Regions from separate parts of the Homo sapiens genome. Here all the other regions are linked to region 5. The links are contacts of gene promoters, found by promoter capture Hi-C in blood cells and fetal thymus (Javierre and others, 2016). All regions are on one chromosome and are shown on one strand. The core of a region is centred on a gene start or on the middle of the fragment in contact, and the rest is flanking DNA. Distances in the headings are between cores, read along the strand shown. Region 1 overlaps BUB1B (BUB1 mitotic checkpoint serine/threonine kinase B). Region 2 overlaps BUB1B (BUB1 mitotic checkpoint serine/threonine kinase B). Region 3 overlaps BUB1B (BUB1 mitotic checkpoint serine/threonine kinase B). Region 4 holds the start of BUB1B (BUB1 mitotic checkpoint serine/threonine kinase B). Region 5 holds the start of ANKRD63 (ankyrin repeat domain 63).

What was found. Contacts are between HindIII fragments. The CHiCAGO score rates a contact against its expected background, and 5 or more counts as called.
Region 1: a contact is called between a fragment that was not itself captured here and the fragment with the promoter of ANKRD63 in region 5, in 7 of 17 cell types (M0 macrophages, erythroblasts, M1 macrophages and 4 more). The highest score is 10.3, in M0 macrophages.
Region 2: a fragment that was not itself captured here is called in contact with the fragment with the promoter of ANKRD63 in region 5 in 1 of 17 cell types (M0 macrophages); the score reaches 6.4 in M0 macrophages.
Region 3: a fragment that was not itself captured here is called in contact with the fragment with the promoter of ANKRD63 in region 5 in 17 of 17 cell types (M2 macrophages, megakaryocytes, M0 macrophages and 14 more); the score reaches 40.9 in M2 macrophages.
Region 4: the fragment with the promoter of BUB1B here is called in contact with the fragment with the promoter of ANKRD63 in region 5 in 2 of 17 cell types (naive B cells and total B cells); the score reaches 5.0 in naive B cells.

What each region holds. Positions count from the first base shown.
Region 1 is chr15:40,195,928-40,201,060 of GRCh38, forward strand. It overlaps BUB1B (BUB1 mitotic checkpoint serine/threonine kinase B), which reads left to right. Exons shown (of 23, transcript NM_001211.6): 9 at 618-847; 10 at 3,688-3,800; 11 at 4,317-4,432; 12 at 5,004-5,053. The region is part of intron 1 of LOC107984763 (a long non-coding RNA gene); the gene reads right to left. Among named protein-coding and RNA genes, the nearest start is that of BUB1B-PAK6, 19 kb to the right of the region's middle. The HindIII fragment of the contact is 2,010 bases long and covers 2,049-4,058 here.
Region 2 is chr15:40,179,502-40,184,904 of GRCh38, forward strand. BUB1B (BUB1 mitotic checkpoint serine/threonine kinase B) reads left to right here. Exons shown (of 23, transcript NM_001211.6): 6 at 4,213-4,382. LOC107984763 (a long non-coding RNA gene) reads right to left here. Exons shown (of 3, transcript XR_001751506.2): 2 at 527-700. Among named protein-coding and RNA genes, the nearest start is that of BUB1B, 21 kb to the left of the region's middle. The HindIII fragment of the contact is 4,331 bases long and covers 346-4,676 here.
Region 3 is chr15:40,212,445-40,217,442 of GRCh38, forward strand. BUB1B (BUB1 mitotic checkpoint serine/threonine kinase B) reads left to right here. Exons shown (of 23, transcript NM_001211.6): 19 at 55-204; 20 at 888-1,030. All of the region lies in intron 1 of LOC107984763 (a long non-coding RNA gene), which reads right to left. It overlaps BUB1B-PAK6 (BUB1B-PAK6 readthrough), which reads left to right and starts at 4,984. Exons shown (of 10, transcript NM_001128629.3): 1 at 4,984-4,998. The HindIII fragment of the contact is 3,082 bases long and covers 1,713-4,794 here.
Region 4 is chr15:40,159,114-40,164,016 of GRCh38, forward strand. BUB1B (BUB1 mitotic checkpoint serine/threonine kinase B) reads left to right here and starts at 1,956. Exons shown (of 23, transcript NM_001211.6): 1 at 1,956-2,142. The coding sequence starts at 2,108. RefSeq lists enhancers at 2,090-2,189, 2,210-2,339, 2,347-3,111. The HindIII fragment of the contact is 2,113 bases long and covers 752-2,864 here.
Region 5 is chr15:40,281,519-40,286,411 of GRCh38, forward strand. It overlaps ANKRD63 (ankyrin repeat domain 63), which reads right to left and starts at 1,546. Exons shown (of 1, transcript NM_001190479.3): 1 at 1-1,546. The coding sequence starts at 1,068. It also overlaps a transcript of PLCB2 not described here. RefSeq lists silencers at 1,028-1,297, 1,308-1,367, 1,438-1,507. The HindIII fragment of the contact is 15,046 bases long and covers 1-4,893 here.

The DNA.
Region 1 (5,133 bases), core at 1,804-4,303, 84 kb before region 5:
GTTGTCTGTTTACTCTGCTGATTATTCCTTTTGCTGTGCAGAAGCTTTTTAGTTTAGTTTAGCCCCATCTAATTATCTTTGTTTTTGTTGCGTTTGCTTTTGGGTTCTTGGTCATGAAGTCTTTACCGAAGCCAATGTCTAGGAGGGTTTTTCCAGTGTTATCGTCTAGAATTTTTATGGTTTCAGATCTTAGATTTAATTAAGTCTTTGATCCACCTTGAGTTGATTTTTTGTATAAGGTGAGAGAGGAGGATCTAGTTTCATTCTCCTACTTGTGACTTGCCAATTATCCCAGCACCATTTGTTGAATAGAGTATCTTTCCCCACTTTACGCTTTTGTTTGCTTTGTCAAAGATCAGTTGACTGTGAGTATTTGGCTTTATTTCTGGGCTCTCTATTCTGTTCCATTGATCTATATGCCTGTTTTTATACCAGTATTATGCTGTTTTGGTGACTATGGCCTTACAGCATAGTTTGAAGTCAGGTAATGTAAGGCCTCCAGATTTGCAGAACATAATTATTGATGGCCCTTGTAAATTATTTTTAGCTTCTTTTATCAATCTTATTGATTTTTTTTATTTTGACCCATATGAATAATAGTAATTTTGCTTCTTTAGGACACCATGTAAAATTGAACCTAGTATAAACCACATCCTAAGCACCAGAAAGCCTGGAAAGGAAGAAGGAGATCCTCTACAAAGGGTTCAGAGCCATCAGCAAGCGTCTGAGGAGAAGAAAGAGAAGATGATGTATTGTAAGGAGAAGATTTATGCAGGAGTAGGGGAATTCTCCTTTGAAGAAATTCGGGCTGAAGTTTTCCGGAAGAAATTAAAAGAGCAAAGGGAAGGTGTGTGTAATTCAAGTTTGTGAAGAGGACTTAACTTAGTTGTGTGAAGGTTGAGCTGACCTATTAAGTCTGAAGAAAACTAACCTTATAGTTTGTACCTTTGTATGATGTTTCTATGGTAGTACTGTTTCTTTCTGTGTATCAGCCAAAATCCCACTGCTGCCTTCTATGGTTGTACTGTTTCTGTGTATCAGCCAAACTCCCATTGCTGCCTTCCATGAAAACTCCTTGGGGTGTGGGGGCACTGAGTATGTTTAGAAGTAAAGGAAGAAGTTCTGAACTGTATGAACAATTTATATTCCCCAATACAATAAGCAAGCAGCTATGATCCCTGACATGCATATATGTACATTCCATGCATCCCTATTAAGTACTTTTCCTAATGTTATTGCTTGAAATATTTCACTTTACCTTTGATACTTTGTCTGAAATTTCTCCAAGGGCTTATTTAGATTAACATAGTAGGTCATACTGCAGTGATTTAGATTATAGATATTCGTATTGTTTTTTAAAGACATTATATTTCTAAATTAAAGGAAAAGGTTTAAAAATTGAGATATGGGGAATTTTTGGGAAACAGGAAGCAGTTCTGATTCTGGAGCCTGGAGTACTTGAAGGCAAGAGGTAGGGCAGAATGGGCTGGAAAGTAGGGAAGTAAGGCATATGGGGCTTAAGGCATGAGAAGGTGAAGGAGAATAAAGAAGGGTACAGAAAATGAGGTAGGGGAGGGTCCACTTCCATTTAGACATTTTTTATTAGGATCTGTAAGGAGAAAGTAATGTTTCTTTTATACATCCGTATCCAGAATAACCTACTAATATAGCTCAGCTCTCTTAACAGGATGTGGTGTTTGTGGGGTTAGCTGGGAAACTTAACCATCACTTATACTTTGAGGAGCAATCTTTTCTGAGTTCCAGGTGACAACCTGGAAGCAAACTTTGGTAAAGCAGACTGTTAGTAAGTTTGAAATTGCCTTCATTTGTTACACTAATTAGTGTCATCCAAGATTGTCAAAAGTGCTCTGGGTTCAAATGGAACTTGTGTGTCTAGGTAGAAGAGAGGGATGGTTGCAAAGCAAGGTGTTGAGTAAGGCTTTTAAAAAAGGAGAACCACTCCAGCAAAGAAATAGGCTAGGAGGGTGGCCAAATATGAACCAGAAAAGGAACTAGGTATCTAGATAAAAACTGTTTCCTAAGGGAAAAGCTTAGTCTGTACCAGATATATAGAAGGAAAATGAAAGTCCATTTTAGGGCCAGGCACAGTGGCTCACACCTGTAATCCCAGCACTTTGGGAAAAAAAGACCAGCCTGGGCAACATGGTGAATTCTCATCTCTGTGGGAAAAAGAAAAGGTACATTTTGTTTTCAACTAGCCAAAGAAGGACCTACTCTAGATTACATGGGATTTAATTAGGAATAAGAAGGCATTGACCTCTGAGAATTTTTTAATACTCATTTCTATTGTGTTTTTTTTTTTTTTAAATAGAGAGATGGGATCTCCCTGTGTTGCCCAGGCTGGTCTCAAACTCCTGGGCTCAAGCTATCCTTCCCACCTTGGCCTTTCAAAGTGCTGGGATTATAGGCATGAGCCACCATGCAGACCTTAATGCTTATTTCTAAGCTGGTCTCTGAATCTATTTCATGAACTTGTATAAATTCCCATCTGTGTATAAGTTTGTACCCTTACATAAATCCTCATTTCAATAAATGTGGTTTCTAGTTACTGTCAAAAACTGACTTCAAAGACTTGCCAACTACTTACTCTCAGGGAAAAATACAAGAAAAGAGGAAGCCACAATCAGGGCCTACACAAAGGTTGTTTTTTCTTTGCGTTGCACTTCCAAATCATTTTTTCCCTCTTCTTTCAAAAACTTTAGCTTCTTTCAGATTTCTGTCCTCTAATTCTTTTCTATCTCCTGAGCCTCCTTAGTGTACTCACCTCAGACTTTTCAGTCACACTCCATCATTCATTAATTGACTAATAAGCACATGGCTTACTATCTATGCCTCTTTACCCTAACCTGCAAAACCCTGCATGGCCAAGCATGGTAGCATGTGCCTGTAGTCCCAGCTACTCAGGAGAGTGAGGCAGAAGGATTGAGCCCACAAGTTTGAGACCAGCCTGGGCAATATAGCAAGACCCCATCTCCAAAAACAAACAAAACTCCATGTGGCTTAGCCTTTACCTACCTCTCCAACCCCATCTTTTTCTATTCACCCTCTTACTATGCTGCAACTACACTGGACTTCCTTTGGATTCTTAGACACAGTGGTCTTTTCCTGCATTGGGGCCTTTGTGCCACCTAGTTTGTTAGCCTAGAATCTTTCCCCAGAACTTTGGCCCCTTATCATTTAAATTACAGCTTAATACTGTCACTTTATCAGAATGATCTTCCCTGATCACTGGTCTTAAGTAGCCCTCCCTTGGCCTCCATCTCCCTACCCAGTCAAACATTCTCACGTCACCTATTTTATTCTTTTTCCTAAACTGATTTTCTTGTGTGTGTGTTGCCCCCAAATTTGAATGTTAGTATCACATAACCAAGGACTTTGTATTATGTACCACTGAAACCTAAGTACTCAGAGCTGTGCTTGGCACATAGTAGGTATTCAATGTTTTTTTCCTTTTAGTAGAAACCTGTGTTGTTCAAAGGTATTCTATTTTTTTATTGAATGGATAAAGAATAGAGGCCTAGACCACAAGTTGAGGACCTTATTCCACTTAAATCATTTTCATCTGTATTAGTAACATATATGTTGAGGAGATGAGCTCCAAAGGCAGTTTTTGACAGAATGAGTTACTATGAGGAATAATACCTCAAGCAACTTTACTGTTTCTAGCCGAGCTATTGACCAGTGCAGAGAAGAGAGCAGAAATGCAGAAACAGATTGAAGAGATGGAGAAGAAGCTAAAAGAAATCCAAACTACTCAGCAAGAAAGAACAGGTGATCAGGTAATTTTTCTTTTTTCATACACAAAACTAGAATTTATTGAAACAAATTTAAACATTATAAAAATATAGAAGGTTAAAGTCCTCCCAACCCCCATTTAGAGTTTCTGGTAGTTTCTTAGCTGTTAGTAGCCGGAAAGTTGAGCGGGAAAGTAATTTAACAGGTGACTTCAAATGGAATTTGTGGCATGTGAAATAAGTGGTGCAGTTTATTGACTTCTTAGTTATACTCCAAATCATTATGTTATTAATTCTGGCTTAAGCTTTTTATTCTAGCTATGTTCCATTAAAATGGGATTGCCTAAAGAAATTTAGTATATGCCTGGCACTGCTCAGTTGAGTACAACAGTACTGGTTTAGAGTAGGAATAAAAATTATTGGAAATGACTTTTGTGGTACACTCATTTTGTACTGTTAGTGGATGTCTAGGGAAAGAGTACAGTAAAGCTAATGTTAGAACTAGAAAATAGCATTTTCTGGATGGGAGGGACATTGATTTTGTTTATTTAATGCAAACAGCAAGAAGAGACGATGCCTACAAAGGAGACAACTAAACTGCAAATTGCTTCCGAGTCTCAGAAAATACCAGGAATGACTCTATCCAGTTCTGTTTGTCAAGTAAACTGTTGTGCCAGGTAAGACTACATAGGTGGAAGGGACAATGCATATAGGAGGGCATTTAGAACCAACCTTTGACTCTCTAGTGCCTTGAAGTCTCCTTGACGTTTACAGTATCGAGACATGGTTTTTGTAAGTCTCTGTCACAACATAAGCTTTGATGCTGATGAGGGAGGACAGAGCATTGACTATTTTCCACTGAAGAAACATGTTTCTTATAGAAACAAATACATATACTGTTTTTAAAAAACAAAATCACCCATTTCTACCACTAAGAGATGATTACCATTAACACTGTTCTGTCTCTTCTTTTGTGTTGTATTTTTGTTTTGTTTTATAAAAATGGCAGCTTACCATTTTGTAATCTGCTTATACTATTAATGCAACTTGACATCTATTATCAAATATATTTCTGCAACATTTTTGATAACCAAAGCTTCCATCTTCTTTAAGAGAATTTGAATTGACAGTAATAATTTATCTTAGAGTAAATATTATATTTAATGGAAAAGCCTCTTGGACTTTTAAAAATTAAACAGTTCTTTCTGTGGGTATTGAGCACATGATTTAAAACAAGTTTCTTTACAGAGAAACTTCACTTGCGGAGAACATTTGGCAGGAACAACCTCATTCTAAAGGTGAGTTGTATTTGACAGCCTTGAGAAGAACTTGCTGATAACAAATGTATTATGTAATAAATGGTAAATATTTTTAATTA
Region 2 (5,403 bases), core at 1,261-3,760, 100 kb before region 5:
TCTTTATATTTTTTAAGTGGGTTTCTTATACACAGCAAATAGTTGGGTCTTGTTTTTTCTGTGAACTCTAACAATATCTTTTTTGTTATGTTGAGACCATTTAATAGAATTTTTAATATTGTTGGGTTTAGGTCTACTATTTTATTATTTGTTCCATGCCTTTTGTTCCTCTTCAGCCTCTTTCCTACCTTCTTTTGGATTATCTGAGTGTTTTTTAGTATTTCATTTTAATTTGTGTTATTGGCTTTTTGCCTCTTACAACTTTAAGTGGTTGCTATAAGGTATATAATATACCTAAACTTTCACATTCTACTTAATGTTTTACCATTTAAAGTAAAATACAGAAGCTTTATAACCATAAAAGTTCCTTTATATTCCCTACCCTTTTGGTATACTTGTCATAGGTATTACATCTATATGCATTGAAAACCCCACCAGACAATATTTTGTTTTGCTTTCAAAAGCCATATATATATATATATATATATCTCTTAAATAACTTAGGAAAATAGTCTGTTGTGTTTACCCTTTTTTTTGTTGTTGTTTTTTCTTCATTCCTGAAGCTCCAAGTTCCCTTCTAGTATCATTTCCCTTCAGTCTGAAGAACTTCTTTTAGCCACTTTCTTTTAGAGCAGGTCCGTTGTCAATTAATTCTCCTAGTTTTTCTTCATCTGAGAATGTCTTCATTTCATCTTCTTTCCTGAAAAATATTTTTACTGGATATAGAATTCTGGGTCAACGTTTCGTTTCTTTTTTTTTTTTTTTTTTTTGAGATGGAGTCTTGCTCTGTCACCCAGGCTGGAGTGCAATGGATGGCACGATTTCAGCTCACTGCAACCCCCACCTCCCAGGCTCAAGTGATTCTCTTGCCTCAGCCTCCCGAGTAGCTGAGTAGCTGGGACTATAGGCATGCGCCACCACACCCGGCTAATTTTTGTAGTTTTAGAAGAGATGGGGTTTCATCACATTGGCCAGGCTGGTCTCAAACTCCTGACCTCAAATGGTCTGCCCACCTTGGCCTCCCAAAGTGCTGGGATTACAGGCATGAGCCACTGTACCCAGCCAACATTTCTTTTCTTTCACCACTTTAATGATGTTATCCCACTGTCTTCTGGCCTCCTTGGTTTCTTTTTTCTTTTTCTTTTTTTTTTTTTTTTTTTTTTTTTGAGACGGAGTCTCGCTCTGTCGTCCGGGCTACAGTGCAGTGGCGCAATCTCGGCTCACTGCAAGCTCCGCCTCCTGGGATTACGCCATTCTCCTGCCTCAGCCTCCCGAGTAGCTGGGACTACAGGTGCCTGCCACCACGGCTGGCTAATTTTTGTATTTTTAGTAGAGATGGGGTTTCACCATGTTAGCCAGGATGGTCTCAATCTCCTGATCTCGTGATGAGCCTGCTTCGGCCTCCCAAAGTGCTGGGATTGCAGGCATGAGCCACTGCGCCCGGCCCTCTCTGGTTTCTAATAAGAAATCTGTAGTCATTTAGTAGTTCCTGACCTATACATAATGTGTTGATTTTCCTCTGGCCTTGTCCAAGATTTTTTCTTGTTTAGTTTTGGTTTTCAGAAGTTTGATTGTGATGTGTCTAGATGTGATTTTTTTTTTTTTTTTTAGACAGAGTCTAGCTCTGTTGCCTAGGCTGGAGTGCAGTGGCACGATCTCAGCTCACAGCAACCTCCACCTCCCGGGTTCAAGTGATCCTCCTGCCTCAGCCTCCTGAGTAGCTGGGATTACAGGCATGCGCCACCATACCCAGCTAATTTTCTATTTTTAGTAGAGATGGGGTTTCTCCATGTTGGTCAGGCTGGTCTCCAACTCCCAATCTCAGGTGATCCACCCGCCTCGGCCTCCCAAAGTGCTGGGATTACAGGCGTGAACCACCACGCCTGGCCTAGATGTGGTTTTCTTTACATTTAATCTGGGCTTCACTGGGCCTTTTGAATTTGTAAATGTATGCCTTTCACAAAATTTGACAAGTTTTCAGCCGTTATTTTTAAAATGATTTTTTATACCTATTATCTCTTTCTTCTTTCTCTCTCTGAGACTTCAGTTGCACAAATTTTAGACCATTTCCCCCGACTCTGCTACCAATAATCTGTCCAAATTAAACCTTTTGATATCATTCCATAGGTCCCTGAAGCTCTGTTTAACCATTTTTCTTTTTGTTTTTCAGATTGGCCCATTTTTATTGCTCTGTCTTCAGGTTCACTTATTCTTTTCTCTTCCATCTCCATCCTGCTATTGAAACCATTCAACATAAATTTTTTATTTCAGATACTGTATTTTTCAATTCTAAAATTTCTGTTTCATTCTTTTTTATAATTTCTGTTTCTCTGTTGAGAATTTCTGTCTCTCCATTCATTTCAAATGTTTTTACCTTCATCTCATGGAACATAGTTATATTAGGTACTTTAAAATCTCCAGGCTGGGCACAGTGGCTCACGCCTGTAATCCCAACACGCTGGGAGGCCAAGGCGGGGGAATCACTTGAGGTCAGCAGTTTGAGACCAGCCTGGCCAATATGGTGAAACTCTGTCTCTACTAAAAATGCAAAAATTAGCTGTGCATGGTTGTGGGTGCCTGCAATCTCAGCTACTCGGGAGGCTGAAGCAGGAGAATCGCTTGAACCCAGGAGGCAGAGGTTGTAGTGAGCCGAGATTGTGCCACTGTACTCCAGCTTGGGTGACAGAATGAGACTCCATCTCAAAAAACAAAATAAAATCTCCATCTGAAAACTATACCATCTGGGTCATTTTATGTTTGCATTTGCTTATTGTTTTTTCCTTTGAAAGTTGGTCACATTTTTCTAGTTCTTTGTGTGTCAAGTAATTCTTGTACCCTGGACATTTATCCTGACCATATGTTATAAGACTCTGATCCTGTTGGCCAATATTCCCTGGAGAATATCTATGTTTTTGTCTTAGTAGACAACCACACTTCAGATATTACAAGTTCTTTGTCATCTTGTGTGGCTGTTGGTTCCACTGTCAGTTCAGTTTTCAAGACCTTTGCTGTGTTGCTTTGGGTCTGTCCCATGCATGTCCTGCTTAAGGGTTAATCTGGGGCTTGGGCAGTGGTTTATATCATTGTTCAGTTCTCAAAGCCTTTTCTGTGCTGCTTTGAATCTACCCTGTGCATGCATAGCTCAAGAGGGAACCTAAGATGTATGCCAATTCACATACAGAATTAGGAGATCCTCTTGTTCAGCTCATTCCTTTGCAGTTCTCCTCCCATATTCTTTGGCCTTCAGAGTCCTCTTTTCCCAGTCCTCAGGCCAGAAAGATGGGGTTTCTCTGAGTTTTACATTCACATACCACCACTGCAACAGTTCAAAACCACAAGAGAAAATAGAAGAATAAAAAAACAGGAAACAATCCTGCGTGGGTTGTTTCTTCAAGTTTTGACCCCTCTCCACAGTCTGCTTGCTTTTGTTGACTTTTCAGAGCCCTCAGTTAGTTGCTTTTTTTGTATATGGTCTATAGTTTTTAATTCCTATCAGTGAGAGAAAGAGAAAAGGTACAGTGGGCATACTCCATCTTGGCCAACACCTGCAATTTATTCTGGGTTTTTTGGGGTTTTTTTTACCCTTATGATAATACTTTTTAAGGCTAGTTAAATGAAGCAGTGGTAGGAATGGAGAATCTCTTCTGATAATACTTAAAACTGTGGCAGCAGCATAGGAAGTTTACTTTTCAAACTTCTGCCAGCTTTGCTAAAGTACAATGTCATGTCATATGCAACTTCATTTCATATAGGTCAGGAGAAACCGTATATGTGTGTGCGTGCACGTGCGCGCATGCATGTGTATAGAAAAAGAGACACAGTGATAAAATAGATGTGGCACAGTGTTAACAATTGGTGGGTCAAGTTTTCTAATAAAAAGTTAGTGGGAAAACTCTAATCTTAATAAACTCTGTGATCTTAGTCTTAATAACCCTAACCTGATCCTCAGATCAACTTAATGGTGATTTTCAGAATAATTTAAATTGGTCAAACTTGGGCATTTAAAGGGAGAGTTAAATAATTCTAGCCAAAACTTTTCATGATCTTAAGGTGACTCTCTTTACTTCTGAGAGAATAAACATGTTCTTTGGGATATTTCTGCATTCTTCCCCCAGCCTGCTCTTCTAATTTGTTTACTTTAACAAATTGGAAATTTTGAGTCTGGTAAAATAGTGGTCACCTCACTAAAAGTTGTGCATTCTGCTACTTTAGACAATTCCAAGCTCGAGTGTCTCGGCAAACTCTGTTGGCACTTGAGAAAGAAGAAGAGGAGGAAGTTTTTGAGTCTTCTGTACCACAACGAAGCACACTAGCTGAACTAAAGAGCAAAGGGAAAAAGACAGCAAGAGCTCCAATCATCCGTGTAGGAGGTGCTCTCAAGGGTAAGTTTGTTAAACGTTATTTCGGAAAACTGTTAGTTTCTAGTGGTAAAATCATGTAAGAAGATAATACATAAATATACCTGTGGACACTTCTAGTTTGCTGAATACTGAGTAGCAAAAAGAAGGAAGTCAAAGGAGAGCTAATATTACAGTGTGCAGTAAAATCAAAATGCATCAGTAATTTTGTGTCTTAATTAAGAAAGACCTAACATTTAGGAAGCATCAAGATTTTCTGAGTTTGAATTGTTAGTTGAAAGAAGATATGTAGTAACATAGCAGGTGTTGTTAAAGTGAAGCTTACATATACCAAAGCCTCAGAGAATGATACTAATATGGTTAAGAACCCTGCCTTCAGAGCCCTTTGGGACCAGAAATTAGACTCTCTATATACCCAAAGATCAGCAATAATTTTTTTTAATTAACATGGACTTTTTTTTTTTTTGAGAGATAGGTTCTCGCTCTGTTGCCTGAAACGTGGTAGTGCAATCATAGCTCACCGCAGCTTCAAACTCCTAGGCTCAAGCAGTTCTTTTGCCTCAGCCTCCCAAGTAGCTAGGATTATAGGTGTGAGCCACTGCATCTGGACAACACTGACTATTTTTTAGAGTAGTTTTAGGTTCATAGCAAAATTGAGCAGAAGGTACAGAGAATAATAAGCTTTTATTTACTAAATTTATAGCAGTTAGACATGTAAACCAGGCTGTTTTTTTAATCTCTTATTTCTTTCCTGGTATCAATTTATCAATAATCAGAATGTTACTTGGTGGTTCTAGAATTAGGATATAGGGAGTGTATGGTCCCAAAGGCTATTTCATCCAGATCATGATGAAGCTTGGTTAATAACCAGCCCCACAACAGAGAAAACCCCTAATAAATGGGTTAATTTTGTATTCTCTAGTTCCAGTATATCTCTGCTGATTTCCATTGAGAGAAAATTTAAAACTGAAGAATAAAACTTAGGTTAGTTTCTGATAAAACTAGATAATGTTATAATGATGACTGAAGGAAGATGCAGAATGTC
Region 3 (4,998 bases), core at 2,004-4,503, 67 kb before region 5:
CAGCCATAACCATAGACTTAACTGAACTTATTTTTAAAATACAATGTCTTACAGGTATCTTCTCAACCTGTCCCATGGGACTTTTATATCAACCTCAAGTTAAAGGAACGTTTAAATGAAGATTTTGATCATTTTTGCAGCTGTTATCAATATCAAGATGGCTGTATTGTTTGGCACCAATATATAAACTGCTTCACCCTTCAGGTCTGTAATACTAAAAACATAATTTAAAGTCCTGAAGTAGAGAGATTTGTGCTCCATTTAGCAAAGGAATTTAGTACAAAATTCCTGTCAATCTTCTAGAAATAGACCAATTCAAGTATAAGTTAGAAGCATTGATAATTTTCTCGTTATTTTGACCAAAGATCTCTTTGGTATTTTTTTAACTTTTTTTGGTCCGTTGTCAAGCATAAATAAAAGTAGAATTGTACAATGAACTCCCATGAACTAGTCATCTATGATAATCTTAGCTCATGGTCACTCTTGTTTTAGCTATACTACCCCCACTGGATAGTTTTTAAAACCCAGACACAATATGTCATTTTACTCTTCGGTTTGTTCTTAAGAAGGTTTGCTATGGATTTTGATGATAATATGAATTCTCAAAAATGGTTGGAATGAGGGTATTTTAAATCCATTTATTAAGTACCTATTTTGGGCCAGGCTCATGCTTGATGCCCTTCATCATTATGTCATTAAATCCTTACAAACAATCTTATGGGAGATGGCAGTGTTATTAAAACTGGGACATAGACTCAGTCTACAGAGGTGCCTACGTTCCAGTAGAGAACAAGGAAGACTACAAACCATCAGTTTTCAAGGTATTGAGTATAACTACGATCTGCCAAACTTGAGAAATAGTGAGTTTTCTGTCCTTCAATTTCCAGGATCTTCTCCAACACAGTGAATATATTACCCATGAAATAACAGTGTTGATTATTTATAACCTTTTGACAATAGTGGAGATGCTACACAAAGCAGAAATAGTCCATGGTGACTTGAGTCCAAGGTGTCTGATTCTCAGAAACAGGTTGGTCCTTTTCATTCTTATAATTCTGCCAGCTGTCTCTTAAAACATGGATAGTTGCCACTTTTTTTTTTCTTTTTTGAGGCGAGGGTCTCACTCTGTCACCTAGGTTGGAGTACAGTGGCATGATCTTGGCTCACTGCAGCCTCCATCTCCCAGGTTCAAACGATTCTCCCATCTTAACCTTGCTAGTAGCTGGGACCACAGGCGCGCACCACCACACCTGGCTAATTTTTTGTATTTTTTGGTAGAGATGAGGTTTCACCATGTTGCCCAGGCTGGTCTCAAACTCCTGGCCTCAAGTGATCTGCCCACCTCAGCCTCCCAAAGTGCTGGGATTATAGGCGTGAGCCACTGCACCCGGCCAAGTTGCCAATTTTTAAAGCCTTTTGATAAATGCCATATCGAGGAACATATTATGTTAAGAGAGTATTTACCTAAAAGTCAAAAATCATTAAGAATAGTTTAAAATAATTCAAAGAAATAAACACATTGAGGAAATAGATTAAATCAGATAAAAGAATTAATCACTGAGTATTGTGATGATATATGTCAAGATGAGATATAAAATATGAATATTTTGAGGAATATAAAGTGGATTGTTTAGTCATTCTTTGAGTGGGACCAGTGCCACTCTAGCGAGGATGCCAGCAAAATCAAGGCACTACTCAGTTTCATAGACCAAAGCTTAAGTCAGGCCTAACTGACCTGTTAGCCAAGAGAAGTGGGTAAAACCAGAGTTCAAATACAAACTATGCCAAGGAATGGGGTTTAGTGTTCAAATTAAACCCAGTGTGTCCATCAGGTTCAAGGGGTGAGCACAGAGCAGGAAATAATAAATGAATACTAAGGACTGAGAAAATATAGATCACGTTCAGGCATTAACTAGGCAAAAACAGTCCAACATTTTTGCTTTGTGAAAAGTACTAGAGGACTACTATATTCTTTTAGTGATCATTGGTGTTATAGTATTTGAGTAAAAGCAGCCTGGTTTAAAGATGCTGTGTCTGCCCAACCCTGTGTCTTGGGTGAGGTGTTAACTTTGTTTCTGAGGCCACTGGTATACACTAATAGCTGGACTTACTCTTTACATTTCTTCTGAATACTTAATCTATCAGAAGAGATTGAATTAGACTCTAAATTATAGTTAACGTGGAAATTAAAAGAACCCTCAATGTGTTCCTGTGATTGTAACCAAAAGAACCAGAGAATCCCACCTTCTCCCCTGAGATAGCAGAGTCAAAGGCTTTCCCAGACATAATGTAGCAGCATTTCTCATCCAGGGCACCATAGGTATTTTGGGTGAGACAATTCTTTGTGCAGGTGTGTTCCAAGCAATGCAGGATGTTTTATATTCCTATTCCCCCCCACCCACCCAATTAAGTGCAAGTAACAATCCCCTAAGCCGTTGTGACCACCAAAAATCCCCCCAAATTTCCAAGTATGAGAACCCCTGGTATATTTTCACTCTACTTAACATTAAAATGACAGTGCTGAAATTCCCAGGGCTATGGAAATTGGAAGCAGAGGTTTTTTCTAAGCCTTTTAGAATTGGCCATTTGTGGTCTAATGAAGTACGATAACCCTTCTCTCAGCCACTAGAGGCTCTAGGAAAGTCCATAGTATTAAAGAGGCATTGCTTTTTACTTTGTCACTGCTTATCAAATTTAATCAGAAATTTCACATAGATTCATAAGGAATTAAAAGCCAGAAAGGGGCCGAGCACAGTGGCTCATGCCTATAATCAATCCCAGCACTTTTGGAGGCTGAGGCGGGCAGATCACCTGAGGTTGGGAGTTCAAGACCAGCCTGACCAACATGGAGAAACCCCATCCTACTAAAAATACAAAATTAGCCAGGTATGGTGGTGCATGCCTGTAATCCCAGCTACTTGGGAGGCTGAGGAAGGAGAATTGCTTGAACTCAGGAGGCAGAGGTTGTGGTGAACTGAGATCGCACCATTGTACTCCAGTCTGGGCAACAAGAGCAAAATTCTGTCTCAAAAAAAAAGCCAGAGGCCGGGCGCAGTAGCTCACGCCTGTAATCCCAGCATTTTGGGAGGCCGAGGCGGGCGGATCACGAGGTCAGGAGATCAAGACCATCCTGGCTAACACAGTGAAACCCTGTCTCTACTAAAAATACAACAAGATAGCCAGCCGTGGTGGCAGGTGCCTGTAGTCCCAGCTACTCAGGAGGCTGAGGCAGGAGAATGGCGTGAACCCGGGAGGCAGAGCTTGCAGTGAGCCAAGATCATGCCACTGCACTCCAGCCTGGGTGACAGAGCGAGACTCCATCTCAAAACAAAACAACAACAAAAGCCAGAAAGGGCTGGATGCAGTGGTTCACATCTGCAATCCCAGCACTTTGGGAGGCAGAGGCAGGAGGATCTCTTGAGGCCAGGAGTTCAAGACCAGCCTGGTCAACATAGCAAGACCCTGTCTCTACAAAAATAAAATAAAAGCCAGAAAGAACCTTTTGAAATTGCTTAGTTTAGTTGCTTACTTTAGTTTCTGCATATTTTTTGTGAGGAAAATGAGATCCAAAAAAATGGAATGTCCTACCCAAAGTAACAGTGAGTGAGTAGCTGATTAGAGGGCTAGGACACCTTCATGCATGCTTCTTTTTATTAATCTATGAGACATTTTTTCCCTATGCCTCCAAAGTTATATAAATATTTTACAATTACACTGGGCATGGTGACTCACATCTGTAATCCCAGCACTTTGGGAGACCAAGGCAGAGGATCACTTGAGCCTAGGAGTTCAAGACCAGTCTGGGCAATATAATGAGACCTCATCTCTACAAAAAATTAAGAAATTAGCCAGGCATGGTGGCACACACCAGTAGTCCCAGCTACTCGGGAGGCTGAGATGGGAGGATCGCTTGAACCTAGGAGGCAGAGACTGCACTGAGCTGAGATCGCACCACTGTACTCCAGCCTCAGTGACAAGAGTGTAGACCTTGTCTAAGAAACCAAACAAAACACACACATGCACACACTTTACATATATATATAAAATACATATGTATATTTTATATATATCAGAATCCACGATCCCTATAACTATATATATACTATATATATATATATATATATATATTTTTTTTTTTTTTTAATTATAGTATAGTTTTATGGTGGCCAAAAAAGGTTGGCTCTTGTGCCAAGGAAAAATGAGAGCAATTATCAATTTTAAAGTAAAATACATAGATCATTCTGTGCCGTGGAGGTATGTAATTGGAGTAGTTAAAGACTGTATTTAGGAATATTGCACCAATATCAGGAGTTTGAGGGAATTAATTGAGAAAAACAGACAAAAGGAACACATGAAAACCCACTCTTTTCATTTATAAACAGTTCCTATGTCCCCTTGGAGAATAGCATTATTGCATAGGATAGATAAACCCAAGGAAAACAAAATTAATTGATAATTAATTAGTATTATAAAGATTTTTTTAGTAAATAACTGGAATTACAAGTAAGAGTAAGATAAAATATGGTGTTTTACAAGAAATTTTACAATACAGATAGGACTTTATAAAACAGACTTGCATTGTTTTCCATTAAACTCTGGAAGGAAGAATCTAAACAATACTTGGAAAGCCTATCTGGAATAGTAAACAAGAAAGGCTATGACACCTATAAAATTTTAATTTCCTCCATCATAATTCCTGTCAGTGTATAAATCATTGCAATTGTATGTGTTAATGTGTACAGTACAGGGAAGAAGCCTGTGCTCTGCTTCCATACTTACTTTATATAATATGGAAGCTTGATAAATGTTTAATGGTGGCCATGCACCGTGATTGAAATATACTTTGTGTCACCAAAGTGGTGACATTCCTTCCGCATTGGGTGGACACTGCCACTGCTCTGTCTTACAGGTGCATTTTCAAAATTAACCACTGGAGGGAGTTGTTGGCATAGCTAAGATGTACCCAAGGTACCTTTTTTTTTTAAAGACCAGCTATGC
Region 4 (4,903 bases), core at 706-3,205, 120 kb before region 5:
CCCTGCTGCTTTCAGCATTCCTCTTCCTCAAAGGCAAACCTTGCTTGCTGGGAGCTCCACCCATCAGTTCATGGGACATCCCTAAAAACTCATTTTCCAAATTAAACCACAGAGTACCTTCTGTCATACATTTTGGAGTTTTGTTTTACCTACCTCCTTCTTTTCCCGTAGTGAAACAAGCAAGGGGTTTAGCCTGAATGCATTCTACATCGTAGCAGAGTTTATGGGGAATCCGACTAGGTTATAGGAAAGACTGAGATCAAAAGACCAAACACTACGTTTCCAAGATTGTTTGTAGGAAATAGTCAAAATTGAGAAGCTGTAGATATGAACAGGACACCCTGTTGAAAGAAAATGAAGTGCTAGGCCAGTACTGACATAAGGTAAGAGATAAAATGAGCCAGTGAGAGAATCCCACGCACCACACCTCATATGATCCAGGAAAGCTTCCTGGATGTGGAGGACTTTGATGTAAAGAGTAACCAAAATTTCCTATGAGGAATCACCCCTTCCCCTCTCTCAGTCCCAAGGTGAAACACATGACTTGGTTCTGAACAATCAAAGCCCTGAATCCACTATCCCCAGTGACTGTTTGGGAGGAAGGGGTTAAGCAGGGTGACTCCTAAGTCTGAATTTGAACCTGTAAGGATAAAGTCGTGAATCTGTTACCCAATGGAGAATGACAATAAGCCAACAACAAGAGTAGAGGCGAGAAATGGAGAGAGGCCCAGTCCACATGAGTCCTGGGTTAAGCTTTATCTGAAGTCTTTTATATATAAAAGACAGTAAATTCCCTTTTCTGAGTAGGCCGATTTAAGTTGGATTTCTACTTCTTTGGAATCAAGAGTCCTGATGATTCAGAGGAAAGAAGGACTTATATAACATGAACAAAGACAGAAAGCTGGGAACTAAGAACCAGAGGGTAGTGGACAGTATCCTCAGCATCTGCCTCTGGGAAGTGCCACCTCTCTGACCATCCCCACAGTCATAAAGGAGAACTCCCCTGTACCTGGGCTTTCTTAAATGACCCTGTTCCTTCCTCAAGGTGGCTAATGCCTGTAATCGCAGCTACTGCGGAGGCTGAGGTGGGAGGATCACTTGACCCCGGGAGTTGGAGGCTGGAATGCAGTAGCCCCATGATGGGGCTACTGCACTCCAGCCTGGGCAACAGAGCAAGAAGAAGACCCTGTCTCTAAAACAAAACCAACCAACCAAACAAACAAAAAGACTCTACTCCCCTGGTCACATCTGAGCTATCACAATTTCTTCCTCAGAAAATTGAAATTGCAACAAACAGTTTAATGTCAGTCAAGGCTAGTCCCCTGAAGGGGAAAAGAGGTAACACCTTGGGAACCATAGCATGGCTGTGTTTACTGCTTGTGGACTGAGCAGAAGAGAAAGCAAGACAGTATCATCACTTTATAGATGAGGAAAACTGATGGTCAGAAAGATTATGTAGCTTGCCTAAGGTTGCACATTTGGTATGATTTTACAGAACTAGAATCCAGCTTTTTGAATTCAAGGGTGGGGCAGGAAACAGCTAGGTCAGTGGCCTAAGAACTCCGGACGGGTGAGATTTGGGGCAGACAGCAGGGGTAGTCACCCTACAAGAGTCACGCCAAGTGCAAGCACTCAGAGACATCTCCCAACACTCAAAACAGCAAAGAAGTTCTGGTGCTTTAAGTGTTCCTCGCTCGGCTCAGAGACTCGGCTTCGAGCCGCGACTCAAGACAGCACCTGGGGGTATTTGTTTTGCCTAAGCCTGCTGCACTTCCACGGCCATTGAATCCCAAAAACTACAATTCCCATTATGCACCGCGAGTTCGCGGACTAAACAGGCATAAACTACAAGCCCCAGAATGCCTTGGGCGAGACGCGAGAGCACGGAGGAGCGGAGGGGCGTGGCCACGTCGACCGCGCGGGACCGTTAAATTTGAAACTTGGCGGCTAGGGGTGTGGGCTTGAGGTGGCCGGTTTGTTAGGGAGTCGTGTACGTGCCTTGGTCGCTTCTGTAGCTCCGAGGGCAGGTTGCGGAAGAAAGCCCAGGCGGTCTGTGGCCCAGAGGAAAGGCCTGCAGCAGGACGAGGACCTGAGCCAGGAATGCAGGATGGCGGCGGTGAAGAAGGAAGGGGGTGCTCTGAGGTAGGTACGGGAGAAAGCTGCTGGGGGCTGGGCCTGAGAGGACACGGCCTGGTAGGTAATAGAAGGCTCCGCTCGGAGCAGTCGAGGGGGAGATCGGCACCGTCAGAACAGACCCCACCGGAGCCTCCTTCCTTTTGGAGTAGAATGCCGGAGGTGGAGGTGAAAACGCAGTGGACTGAGGGCACGTGCGAATCCTGCCGCATCCAGCTTCAAAGCGAAGAAGGCTGCGGGACCCCAGCGGAACAAAGAGTTTGGAAGTTGCAATGTTGTCTGTTTGTAACTCAGCTCAGCCACCTGCTAGTTGTTTGACCTTGGGCAAATCGTTTGTATGGAAAATGCTGATGTTAATGCTGCCTTACGTGGTTCTGGGGGAATTCAAAGTATTTGTTAAGTAACTGCTTCCAAATAAGCGCTCAACAAATGGCAGGTGCTATGCCAATAGCACAGAGATCTGAAAGCCTTTAGCCAATATCATAGAGATCTAAATTATGCCAATAACATAGAGATCTAAAAGCCTTTTTCTGCATGTTTGCGGCTTTTCCTTGTATTAAAAAAACTATATTGCAGTTCTAGGTTGGAAATCTGTATGTGTTTTCACTGTGGTGCCCGCAATACCTAGATAAGTGCTATGTCATGGGCTCTTTCATTCATGTAACAAGTATTTTTTTGGCTAAGCTCTGAGTGCAGCAAATATACAGACACAAAAATCTCAACCCTCATGAAGCTTAAGTTCTGGCATGGGATGAAGGTGGGGGAGTCAGACAATAAAGACAAACTGTTAGGTGGAGATGTGGTCAGTACTAAAAAAAATAATAAAGCAACTGGGTGTAGTGAATATTGGGGGTGGGGATTGGTGCAATTTAACTTGAACACTGGAGTCTCACTGAGGAGATGTCACTTTGGTCAAGACTTGAAGGAATCTCAAAAGCTAGAGGTTCTATATCTGAGGAGAGTACAAAGGCTGAGGGTGAGAGCTAGGGGAGGAAGTTGCACCTGGCATGTCCAAGGCCATTGTCACTGGAGCAGAATTAACTAGAAGAGTAAAAGGATATTATGTAAAAATGGTGAAGATGCAGATTGTAAGGACTTAGCTTTTACTCTAGTTGTAATCAAAAGTCATTGGAAGGTTTTGAGCAAAGGAAAGACATAATCTGACTTGGGTTTAAATGGGGTCACTTTGGCTGTAGTGTTGAATACACTAAAGGCAGCAAAGGATGGAAGCAAGGGACACCAGTTAAGAGGTTATTGAAATAATTCAGCTCAAAAGTGAGTTGAGCCAGGTGGAAAACAGTGGAGATGATGATAAGTGGTTGATTTCTGTATATATTTTGAAGGTAGAACCAGTAGGACTTGCTGACTGACTGAGGGGTATGAGAAGGGCATCAAAGTTGGCACTAAGATTTTTGGCTTGGGTAACTGAAGAATGGGATTGCCATTTATTTGAGAAAGAGGAAGACTGTGGGAGGAGCAGGTCTGGGAGGAAGTGGGGGCAGTCTTAGCTCAATTTGGGATATTTAACTGAGATAGTGTAATTCACTATTTTTAAGAGCAAGAGAAGAAAGTTCAGATGAATTCAACAAACAGGGCATAATAGTGTTATATCTCGTATTAGATCATGGGCATACAAAAATAAATGGCATAGCCCTTACCTTTACAGAGTTCACACAATATAGAGCAGGTCCTGGTATAACATCGTTTCGTTATAATGTTGATGAGAAAAAAAATCAATTCATTGCGGGGCTGCTGTGTATGTGGAGTTTTCATGTTTTCCGCATGTCTGCATGGGTTTCCTTAGGTACTCCAGTTTCCTTCTACATCCCAAAGATGTGCCTGTTAATTGGCGTGTCTAAATGATCCCAGTCTGAATGGGTGTGAATGTGATGCTCCCTGTGATGGAGTGGTGTCCTGTCCAGGGTTGGTTCCTCTCTGAGTTGCTGAGATGGGCTCTGGCCACCCTCAACCCCGAACTAGAATAAGTGAGTTGGAAAATGAATGAAGGAATGAATACAAATTACTGTAAAATAAAAATCTGTAAAGGCTGGGAGCGGTGGCTCACACCTGTAATCCCAGCACTTCGGGAGGCTGAGGCAACAGGATTGCTTAAGCTCAGCGGTTCAAGACCAGCCTGGGCAACATAGTAAGGCCTGTCTCTATTTAAAAAGTTTATATAAAGTGTGTATGATAATCATATAAATGCATGACAATAAACAATGCCTTATGAAAGTGCCCAGCATGCCCACTATAGTGTTACTATTTGTTTTTTGAACTTTGTGGTGGTAGGAGGTACTTCTTGAAATTTTCACTCTCAAACATTTATTCCTTGAGTTAACCCACCAACACTATGACTGCAGTCATTCACTGATTCGCCAAAAATTGGGTAAATGATTATTTTTTGTTTTCATTAAATGTTCTTAAGTGTACGGATAGCTCACATTTATTTCAATATTTAGTATTAAAAATGTTTGTTTCGAGTCTTTATTCAGAAGTTTGGTGACGTTTTTGTGACCAGAAATATGCCATAGGAACTTAACTTTTGTTTATGTCGATCAGCCTGTGGTAAAATTGGTTTTGTTACATGTCATTTTGATTAAAGTCATAGTTTCCAAGAAGCTGTCTCCAACGAGTTTTCAGTGCTCATCTAGACTGAAGTCACATATAACTTTCACTCTATTTCAAAGATTAGTGCCAATGTGTCTCTCTTTTTGTTTTAAGTCCAGAGGTAATGTCTCTTAGAAATAGTCTTCTATCTAACCATTGCAGG
Region 5 (4,893 bases), core at 296-2,795:
AGCGTTGGCCTCTAACTCCGGGCCACTCTCGGGCCCTGGCGCCTCCCCGACCAGGCTGGGGATATCTGGGGCTGTGGAGCGTCGGCGCAAACCCAGGCGGCCAGAGCCGGGGCCGCCCTCCGGGTGGGGACTGAGGCCAATGGGGGCTTGCGCTAAGGTTGGGGGCGCTCCCTCCAGCACCTCCTGTGAGCGCCACCGCCCAGTCCCCGAAGACTGGGGCGAGTTTGGTAGGGCCATCAGGGCCCCAGCCCGCAGGCGGGCAGCCTCCTCCTCGGTTACCGCACCTAGAGCCAGGCTCATGCTCCGACCCAGCTCGGGCCGTTCGCTGCCCTGCGCCCGGTGCCGGCCCGAATTCTTGCCCGCTGAGCCAGCCTCGCCGCCGTGGCCGCCCGCCGCTCGCGCAAAGCGCGCCAGGAGAGGCCGCGGGAGGCGGCGGGGGCTGGGTCGTCGATGCTCGGGGCTGGCCGCGGGGGCCGGGCGGCCAGGGGGACTATCGGAGTTGGAGCCCCGGGCCGCAGCGGCGGCGGCGGCGCGGCCCCAGGGCCCGGTGAGGGCCTGCACACAGGTCCCGTGGCCGCGGGCGGCGGCCAGTTGCAGCGCGGTGAGCCCCGCACGGTTGGTGCGGTCGAGGCGCAGGCCTAGGCGGCGGAAGGACCGCACCAGGAACTCGAGCACCGCCCCGTGGCCGCAGGCCGCCGCCCACATCACCGGGCTGTTGCCCGCAGAGTCGGCCGCCTCGGGGTCACCGCTGAACTGCACCAGCAGCTGCACGGCGTCCAGGTGGCCTCGCTCGCACGCCAGGCTGAGTGCGGTGCGGCCGCGCTCGTCTCGCAGGTTCACTGCAGCACCCTGCTCGAGCAGCAGCCGCACGAAGCGCGCGCGCAGCGCGGGGTCCGGCAGCCCCACGGCCACCATGAGCGGCGTACGGCCCTGCTCCGCGCGGCAGTCGATGATGCTGCGGTCCAGCGCATCCAACACGAAGCGGGCCAAGTGCACTTTGCCCGCCTGCATGGCCTCCAGGAAGGTGCGCGTCCCCGCTCGGGGGCACAGGTCCTTGGGTTTGAGCATGGCCCCGGCCGCCGCGCCCGGGCAGCCTGGCAGTTCCGCACGGGGGCGCCCCTGTTCTCGCGCCCCGCGGGGCTCCGGCCTCCGCCCGCGCTCTGATACCTCTCCCTCCGCGCGTGGGCGGCTGCAGCCGAGGGTCCCGAGGTTCCTACTCCGCTGTCCCGGAGGCTCCGACTGCCCCGCCGCTCCTGGGCCGCACGCCTGGCGTGTCGCCGCTCCTTCCCCGGGCCTCCCGCCTGGAGGTGTTGATTGCTCGCTACTCCGGGCTCCGCTCCTGGCCCGCCACCAGACGTCGGGAGCAGAGACTCGACCCTCTCCCGAGTCTCTCGCCGCTTTCCCGGTGTCCGGCGCCCCTCAGTCCTCGTGGTTTGGAGCCGCCGTGCCACTCACCCGCACCCAGGGCAGCCCCCGCTCCCCCGCAGCGACGGTGGCGCCCGCCGTGCACGCCTGCCTCCAGCCCTGGCGGGGCGCGCCGCTCCTCAAGCTGCTGGCGCCGTTCCTCCGCCTCCTCCCCTCTCGCGGGGGCCGGGCCACGCCAGGGCGCTTGCTCCTTACTTGGGGGGCTCAGCGGCGCGGGAGCTGCCGCCCGCCTAGATACCTGACTTTATAGCCTTGGGGGTCTCCATGGCAATGGCTGTCCTGGGAGCGGACTGCGCCGTCAGGGCAGAGACGGACGGGGCGGGGGAGACCGCTCCTGACCCCCACCCCTTCGTGGGCCACGAAGTAGGGGAGCGGTTCCTCCTCCGCGCTCCCCTGGGAATGCGGCGGCGGTTGCGGGGCGGGGGCGGGGGCTGCTCGCCGGGGGCCACATGCACCCAACCGGGCCAATCCCAAAGTCGCAGTCTTCTCTCCCCGCCCTCCGCCCCCAACCGAGTCGGTGCCCTCGGCTCCTTAGAAACTGGCGGGACCTCGGCCTCGTCGGGGAAGACTGAAAGCTGCCCCCATCGGTCCAGGGTGAAAGGAATTGGGACCCCATGAGCGCAGAACTGGACCACGCGCGAGCTAGGGGTGGCAGCGAAAGGCGGATGAGGAGTAATTTGGGGGAGGGGGTATACGTGCCGCGGATTGGGGGCGCTCAGCCTGGCTGGGAACTGCCACTCGAAGTGCAGAGAATCACGCACTCACACACAATTGTTCCACCCGCACACGCTCCCTGGGAACGAGGGGTGGGGTCCGAGTGCGCTCTCCAATTTCAGACGTCTCCAACCCCGACAACGCGCCCGCGTGCCAGCTCCTGGTGGCTGCCTAGCGGGCAGAGTGTAGACGCCCAGACCAGGGAGGGGCTCCTTAGGACCCGGGAGTGCCGCGGACATGTTAAAAGTTCCCTGGCGCCGCCACCCTGGAAAGAGCTAGGGACCCACTCGAGGTTCCCTGCCCCTCGCTTCTCCCTTGAGCACAAAACAACCCCCAGGCCACAGGGCTCTGGCTCTGACCACTGGCTGACCCCTAAAGAGAGGAGGCGAGCACAAGTTCCATTTTCCGTAAGATGCTTGGAGAAACCACTGCATCTCCTCTCCCTCCGGCCAGCAGGTCCCCCTCGGTCCTGGAGGAGGGGGGATGATACACAGGCCTGGGCGGAGCAGAGTTAGGGCGCCTCAGAGCCTGGGTGTGGGTGGTGGGGAGGGTGTGAGTAGGGTTGGAATGGATATTTGTAAAGTAAGGAGTAAAGCAGTTATCAGCTGCAGAATTTACTGAGACTTTTCATGAGCCGCACATTTTGTTGCCGGCAGCGGGTAAGAGAGAGACAGAATCTCGGTTCTGGGTGCGAGACGTTCCACCTCTTAAGAAGACAACACTGGGACTTAAAAAATGGACGTTGTCACCTGAGGGCTGAATTCTTCTGCTAAATACGTACCAACACAGTCCTTGGATGAAAAGATGGAGTTGTGGGCAGGAGAGGGCTCTCGGGCCTTTTAAAGATAGGCCTTCAAGGATGTGCGGGATCTGGCTGCAAAAGAAAGAAGGAAGGAATCCCAGGCCGGGTGCAGTGGCTCACGCCTGTAATCCCAGCACTTTGGGAGGCCGAGGCGGGCGGATCACGAGATCAAGGGATCGAGACCATCCTGGCCAACATGGTGAAACCCCGTCTCTACTAAAAATACAAAAATTAGCTGGGCGCGGTGGCACGCGCCTGTAGTCCCTGCTACTTGGGAGGCTGACGCAGGAGAATTGCTTGAACCTGGGAGGCAGAGGTTGCAGTGAGCCGAGATCACGCCACTGCACTCCAGCCTGGAGACAGAGTGAGACTCCGTCAAAAAAAAAAAAAAAAAAAAAAAAAAAAGGAAGTAATTCCAGACGGGTTCTGGAGGCAAAGGCTTGGAAGCAGGATAAACCTTCAGGGGACACTATTGAGGGCTGCTTTAAGGGGTCCCTTCCTATCAGAGACAGGAAATAAGGGAAGAATGATGGTGTTCTCAGTCTGAGCAGATGCTTTGGAGTAGGAGATGCCTGGGGAAAGGTACTGGGCATAGATAGGCGTGGCAAAGTGGGCTCATGGCCCTGCACCCTGAACCCCTTGCCTCTCTCCAGCTCCCAGGCTCCGGGGATGTCCACCTTGAATTTGGCACCCAGGCCATGGAGCAGAGGCTCCCACTCCCCTCTGTCACGTGAGGAGCGTGTGATGTGTACCTGCATCCACTACGAAGCCCCCCTTTTCTCTTTTTGCATTTGTTAAGCCTTTGGTCAGGGATCTGCCAATTTTCTTTCCTGGTGTCATGAAAAGGCCACAGATCTGACATCAGCGTTAAGTCCCAGCTTGAAGGCATTTACTAGCAGTGTGGCTCCAAGCCTGCATATTCTCAGCTGCAAAATGAGACTGATAAATACCAGCCCTGCCTGCTTTACACAAGAACAAGTTAGAAAGTGTCAGGGAAAGAGCTGCATAGTTATTTCATTTTTTTTATTTTGTTTTGTTTTGTTTTCTAGAGCTGCATAGTTATTTAGAGTGCAGCCCTCAAAGCTGCTCCCGCCCCAGAGCTAGGGCCCCCTTCTGGGGTGGCCCCCAGGAATGGATAGAGACTCTCCACCCCCAGTAACTGGGCAGGAATGCTCTCCTTTACTCAGCAGAAGAAAGGCTTTTCTTCCCTTTATGACTCAACTTCTCTTTTCAGCACTGTGAGGGAAATTGCTTTCTTCCCTTCTATTTCCAAGGTCAGAGGAGGGTGTACCCCTGGAACCTGTGTGTGGCCCACCAGCCTGACAAGCCATGACTCACACCCCCCCAGGTGGAGGAGAGAAGCAGCAGAAACCCAGAATGGGCACTTTCTTGGTCCTGAAGAGCCCCTCCTCCCTGAGACAACTGAGCTTCATTTCTGTTCCTGTTCCTCCGTGGTGGATTGAGACAGTTCCAGGGAAGAAGAGTTGGGGCAGAAAGTGCTGTGCTGGGTACCCTTTGGAAGGAGCAGTTGGTTCCCATGGCAGGAAGGGGGTGGTGGTGCCAGGTCTCGAGCCCTGGAGCCTTTGCTCTGACTTCTCTATGGGCTCAGTATGTTCTGAACAGAAAAGAAACAGCAAAGCTGAAAAAAAGCTGAGACTTTGCTGCAGAGCACAGAGGCACCAACAGCCGGAATTAGAAGCTGTCGCTTAGGGAGCTGAAGGCTGACAGGAGATGGAGCCCAGGCAGGCAGGGGGCAGGCAGGCACGTCATACTCACCTCCCCTCCTCTCCCCTCCTGTCCCACCTGCTGGGCCTGTCCTCCCAGCAGGCCCCAGGCTGGCAGAAGGGCTCCCTCCCCAAGATGCCTCAGTGTGGTCTGCCACTCTGTCTGCAACTGCCTCCCTCTCAGGCCCCTTCTTTCCTCAAGTGTCACCAGCCCCCTCACGCTGTCAC